2 separate regions of the Homo sapiens genome follow, and region 1 is linked to region 2. Evidence: promoter capture Hi-C in 16 types of primary human blood cells and fetal thymus (Javierre and others, 2016). All regions are on one chromosome and are shown on one strand. Each heading gives the region's core, a stretch centred on a gene start or on the middle of the fragment in contact. The rest is flanking DNA. Distances are from core to core; before and after follow the strand shown.

Evidence for each region. The method cuts DNA at HindIII sites, captures the fragments that hold promoters and counts their contacts. A CHiCAGO score of 5 or more calls a contact.
Region 1: a fragment that was not itself captured here is called in contact with the fragment with the promoter of LRRC4 in region 2 in 1 of 17 cell types (neutrophils); the score reaches 5.1 in neutrophils.

The regions. Positions count from the first base shown.
Region 1 is chr7:127,881,109-127,883,808 of GRCh38, reverse strand. The region is part of intron 12 of SND1 (staphylococcal nuclease and tudor domain containing 1); the gene reads right to left. Among named protein-coding and RNA genes, the nearest start is that of SND1-IT1, 120 kb to the left of the region's middle. The HindIII fragment of the contact is 2,215 bases long and covers 336-2,550 here.
Region 2 is chr7:128,030,045-128,032,744 of GRCh38, reverse strand. It overlaps LRRC4 (leucine rich repeat containing 4), which reads left to right and starts at 1,308. Exons shown (of 2, transcript NM_022143.5): 1 at 1,308-1,832; 2 at 2,005-2,700. The coding sequence starts at 2,105. The region is part of intron 16 of SND1 (staphylococcal nuclease and tudor domain containing 1); the gene reads right to left. RefSeq lists silencers at 25-94, 745-864. The HindIII fragment of the contact is 11,709 bases long and covers 1-1,792 here.

The DNA.
Region 1 (2,700 bases), core at 194-2,693, 150 kb after region 2:
AAGTGTCAAGGCCATGATGGTCAAAGAAAGACTGAAGAACTATTCCAGACTAGAGTGACATGACCTCTAACTGCAACACCTGATTCTGAACTAGATCGTTTTCTTGAAGTATTCCATTAGAACAGTTGGCAAAATTTGAGTAGGTTTGTGGATTAGATGATAGCAATGTGTTAATATCCAAGTTCTAATGTTTTCTGAGTATGCAGGAAAATGTCCTGCCTCATAGAAAATGCAAGATAAATTATCTGAGGAGAGGTACAATAGATCGGCCAGTTGCTCTTAAATAGTTGAAAGGTATGCTCTTTGTACAGTTATGTGCAACTTTTCTATAAGCTTAAGTGGTTTCAAAATTAACACAAACACACATTGTGAAGTAAACTGGACAGTTTTAGACAAATTATCAATTGTCAATATATTGTTACTTCCAATATTGTTAGAGGTAGGGAAGGCAGGCAAAAATATGATCAAACAATTAAGGCCTACTACAATTGAATTTTACCCCCTAGGATTCCTGTTCTCTTGTATGGGTATGGAACATATTTTCTCCATGTTGGCATAATATTGGACCCCACGGTTTCACTACTATCTTATAGTGGCTAAGTTTGAGCTTATATTACAACCTGCTTGCATGGAAATTAACTAGAGGGGAAGATGTCAACTGCTCGTCTATCTTTTGGGCAAGACTGCCTGTGAGACCCATGTCACCTGTGTTTGTTTATATCAGGAACCACCTGATCATGCCTAATGGAAACTGTTGACTTTTAGTAGAACCCTAAACATCTCTTTTAGTTTGGAGAAGCATTTCAGTCCTAGCACTAATTCTCTTTTTGTTTCTAGCTGACATGGAGAGTGATGGCTTACTGTTAGACTTCCAAGGTTGTTAGGTCCCTTTTTATATGCCGATTGTGAATTATCCATTCAGGCCAGACATGTGTAATTGGAGTAGAATTACTGATACACTCAAGAAAGCAGAATTTATAAATTTGTCTAAAGCAGCATAATGTCATGGCACACAATTTAATGTTCTCTTTTCTTACTGGGCAACTGATCAACTCAGTAGTGTCAGGTTCTGAGCCATCTGTAGCCAGGGGAAAATTTCCTGACCTTTCATTAGCAGCCAAAAGAAATGAATGAGACAGTCAAGTACATGGATCTAGGCTAATTCCACTTTCTCTCCCTCCCTTTCATTCTCTTTTTAAATTGAAGTCCCAGATAATTGAGAGGAGGAAGACAAAAGCTGGGAAAGCATGCAGAAAGTTATCGTCCTTGATTACATGCTGGGAAAACTTGGCTAGGAAAATAATGTTCCAGTGCTCTATTTCCAAAATAATTAAATTCCTCTCCTCTCCTCTCCCCTCTCTTCCCCTCCCCTCCCCTCCCCTCCTCTCCTCTTTTCTCCTCCGTCCCTCCCTCCCTCCCTCCCTTCCTCCCTCCCTTCCTGCCTGCCTTCCTTCCCCTCCTATGGGGCTCTGACACCCCAAGCCAGACTACCCCTCTGAGCACATATGCCTTTGATCTGCCTTAATTGCTTTTCCTTTTTTTAACATATATAAAAGGGACAGGGTCATGCCCTGTCACCCAGGCTACAGTGCAGTGGTATGATCATAGTAACTACAGCCTCAAACTCCTGGGCTTAAGGGATCCTCCTACCCCAGCCCCCTGAGTAGCTAGGACTACAGGCACATGCCACCATGCTTGGCTCATTTTTGAATTTTTACTGTAGAGACAGGGGCTTGCTATATTGCCCAGGATGGTTGTGAACTCCTGGGCCCAAGTGATCCTCTCACCTTGGCCTCCCAAAGTGCTGAGATTACAGGCATGAGCCACTGCGTCCAGCCTCTGCCCCAACTGCTTTAAGAATGAATTGTTTTGGCTGTTGGGGTGGCTCACGCCTATAATTCTAACACTTTGGGAGGGCGAGGCAGGAGGATCTCTTGCGTCCAGGAGATCAAGGCTACAGTGAGCCATGGTCACACCACTGCACTCCAGACTGGGTGACAGAGTGTCACATCACTGCACTCCAGACTCGGTGACAGAGTGAGACTGTCTCAAAAACAAAAAAAATTGTTTCCATTTGACACCAAACACCAACCACCGCTAACTTTCCATAGAGTCAAACCATGAAGGGGCAGAGCGAGCTTTTCAATGAGAGAACCAGACTGTGTGTTTTGCATTTGCCTGTCCAGTTATATTTACAGCCAAAGGTAATGCATATTTCAACGGGGACAATAAAGATAAAACTTTCCCCATATACATATATACTCTTTCTCACTCATTCATGCATTCTGTGACTTTGAATATTTGGTGCCCATAAGTAGAGCTAACTTAAAAGGAATATACTACTTGGTAAAAAAGAACCTGGGTTAAATGAATAAAAATATTATAGGGGCTGAGGGTAAACTCCCCCTTTGCCCTCTGGAGGTTCCCTAAAAATCAGCTGACAAAAGGCAGATTAACAAAAGAAAGAGCATAAAAAATTTAATTTTAATGTGCATAGCATGGAGGGAATCATAGAATGATTATCCAATAACCTAGGGTGGAACAGAAGCTTATGTACCCCTTTTCATAGGGGAGGGGTGAGATGGGGAATGTGGTAATTCTTTGAGGAGCAGTAAATCTTCAGGGAGAATAAATGGACCCAGAGAGTGGGAGGCAGACATTACTGGAAGGTGAGAAGTGAAGCTGCACAGAAACAAAGGT
Region 2 (2,700 bases), core at 59-2,558:
CCTCGTGGCCCCGGCCGCCGTCCCCCGAGTCCCCACCACGCAGTTCCGAACTCCGAACGCGAGTCCGCGCCCCGTCAGCAGTCAGCGGGGGTGAGGATGACGCGGGCCGGGCGAGAGGCAGGCCAAATGCAGCAGCCCCGCCGCGGGCCGCCGGGCCCCTGAGCCCCGCTCTTCAGAGCCAGGGGGCCCCGGGTGCGGGCCGGAGGGCGGGGGCCGGCGCGGGCTCTCCCGCCGCAGCCCCGCGCCGCTCCAGCCTATCAGCGGCCACCCAACTGCTCCCTCCGACCGGCCCAAAATAGCTGCGAACGCCTGCGACTTGCGCGCGGCCCCTCACTTGACGCTCACTCCGGCTCGCTCGCCCGCTCGCCCTGGCCCCGCTCCGCTCGTCTAGAGGGGGCGGGGAGGAAGCGGCCCGGGGAGGGGGGAGGGGGGAGGGGGAGAGAGGAAGAGAGGAGGAAGGAAGGAGGAAAGAGGAAGACGGGCGGCCGGAGGCGCGGGGCTGCGCGGCGCCGGCCGGCGCGGCGCTGGAAGGCGCCGGCGTTAACCCCGCGAGGCAGGCGACGGAGGGGGAGCGGCGCTAATACATAAGAGCACTGCATCACGCTAATCTTCTCCCAGAACAGTATGCGTCAGCAGTACATTCACGTTCTGACTGAAGGACAAAAGGATGAGAGAGCAGTCTGCGTGGCTGCCGCCTGCAACACCGCGAGCCCGGCGCGAGGAGGAGACGGTGGGCGCCGCGCGCAGGGGCCCCGCTGCTGCTGCTGCCGCCGCTAGCCAGCGGGGACTATGTTCCTGGGCTCCGGAGCGTTTCCCGCAGCCGCGACCCCCGCTGCTCACGCCGCTGCAGCAGTCCGCTGGCGGCGCGGCCACTGAGGGCGCCGGGAGCCGAAGCCGCGAACTCGCTCCCTCCGCACAAAGCCGGAGCCGGCGGCGCGCCGGGGGCCGGGCAGCGGCGGGCGGCGACGGGCGGTTGCGCGCCGCCGGGGGCTGCGGCCGCCGCCGCCGCCGGACCCGCGCCCGCCCCCGGACTCTCTGAAGGGGCCTGCGGTGCGGGCGCGACCGCGGGCGCCGCGCGCTCCTCCGGCCGGCGGACCGGGTCCGAGCGCAGCCGCCACGCCGCTGGTCCTCGGGGGCCGGACGGAGCGCCGCCCCGCGTGCCGGCAGCCGGCGGACTGGAGAACTGACCCCCCGTTTTTGTCTCTTCCACCCTCCGAGAAGAGGCGAGGAGAAAGGGGGTGTGTGTCTGGGGAGGGCGAAGGCGCCGCGAACACCTCCTCTTAACTCTCGCCGCTCCGCGAGCTCACGACCGCAATCAGCTGCCGCCGGCCCGGAGCGGCCGACGCCGGGAGAGGGAGCGCAGCATCCAGCGAGTGCGGCCTGGGCGGCTTCGGGGCGCCCCCGCACTCCCTCCGGCGGCGGCCCGCAGAGCGGGCCGGGGCCGCCGGAGCGCACTTTGGCGATGAAGCGCCTTCCCCCGCGGCTGGAGCGAGCCGGTGCCAGGGTCCAAGGACAAAGCCGGGAAGCGCTGGTGGCGCCGCTCCTTGGGCGGAGGGGGGGGCATGCACCTGCATAGCCCGCCGGGCCTTGGCTCTCCCAGGCGCGCCTCAACTCCGCGGCTTCGCCGGCTCCGGCTCCGGATTTACTAGAGGCCATTTTGTCTCCCCCACCCCTTCCCTCCCCTCCCCTCCCCTCCCCTCTGCCCTCCCCGCCCCCACCACTTCCCCCTTTTGTTAATTAAAACTAAGAAGTCGGAATGGGAACGAGGTGCCCAGCTCCCGTGGAGAAAGCTTAAGGACACCACGCCAGTGCTTTCCTGCCTTCCTTCCGAGGTAGGTGACGGCGAACTGGGTGGGGACGGTTGCAGTGTGGGAGAGTCGTAGCTTTCGGAGGGCTTGCCTTGAGGGTGGGTTGGGAGACCAGGGGCCGCTCGAGTTTGGCAGGATTTTTTTCGGCCGATCCGCTCCGTCTCTCTAATCGCCCCCTCCCCACCTCCTTCTCCAGATGGAAAGAGGAGCTCCTAGCTCACTTAAGCCGGGGTAGGGCTGGTTCTCCTTTCCGAGCCAAAATCCCAGGCGATGGTGAATTATGAACGTGCCACACCATGAAGCTCTTGTGGCAGGTAACTGTGCACCACCACACCTGGAATGCCATCCTGCTCCCGTTCGTCTACCTCACGGCGCAAGTGTGGATTCTGTGTGCAGCCATCGCTGCTGCCGCCTCAGCCGGGCCCCAGAACTGCCCCTCCGTCTGCTCGTGCAGTAACCAGTTCAGCAAGGTGGTGTGCACGCGCCGGGGCCTCTCCGAGGTCCCGCAGGGTATTCCCTCGAACACCCGGTACCTCAACCTCATGGAGAACAACATCCAGATGATCCAGGCCGACACCTTCCGCCACCTCCACCACCTGGAGGTCCTGCAGTTGGGCAGGAACTCCATCCGGCAGATTGAGGTGGGGGCCTTCAACGGCCTGGCCAGCCTCAACACCCTGGAGCTGTTCGACAACTGGCTGACAGTCATCCCTAGCGGGGCCTTTGAATACCTGTCCAAGCTGCGGGAGCTCTGGCTTCGCAACAACCCCATCGAAAGCATCCCCTCTTACGCCTTCAACCGGGTGCCCTCCCTCATGCGCCTGGACTTGGGGGAGCTCAAGAAGCTGGAGTATATCTCTGAGGGAGCTTTTGAGGGGCTGTTCAACCTCAA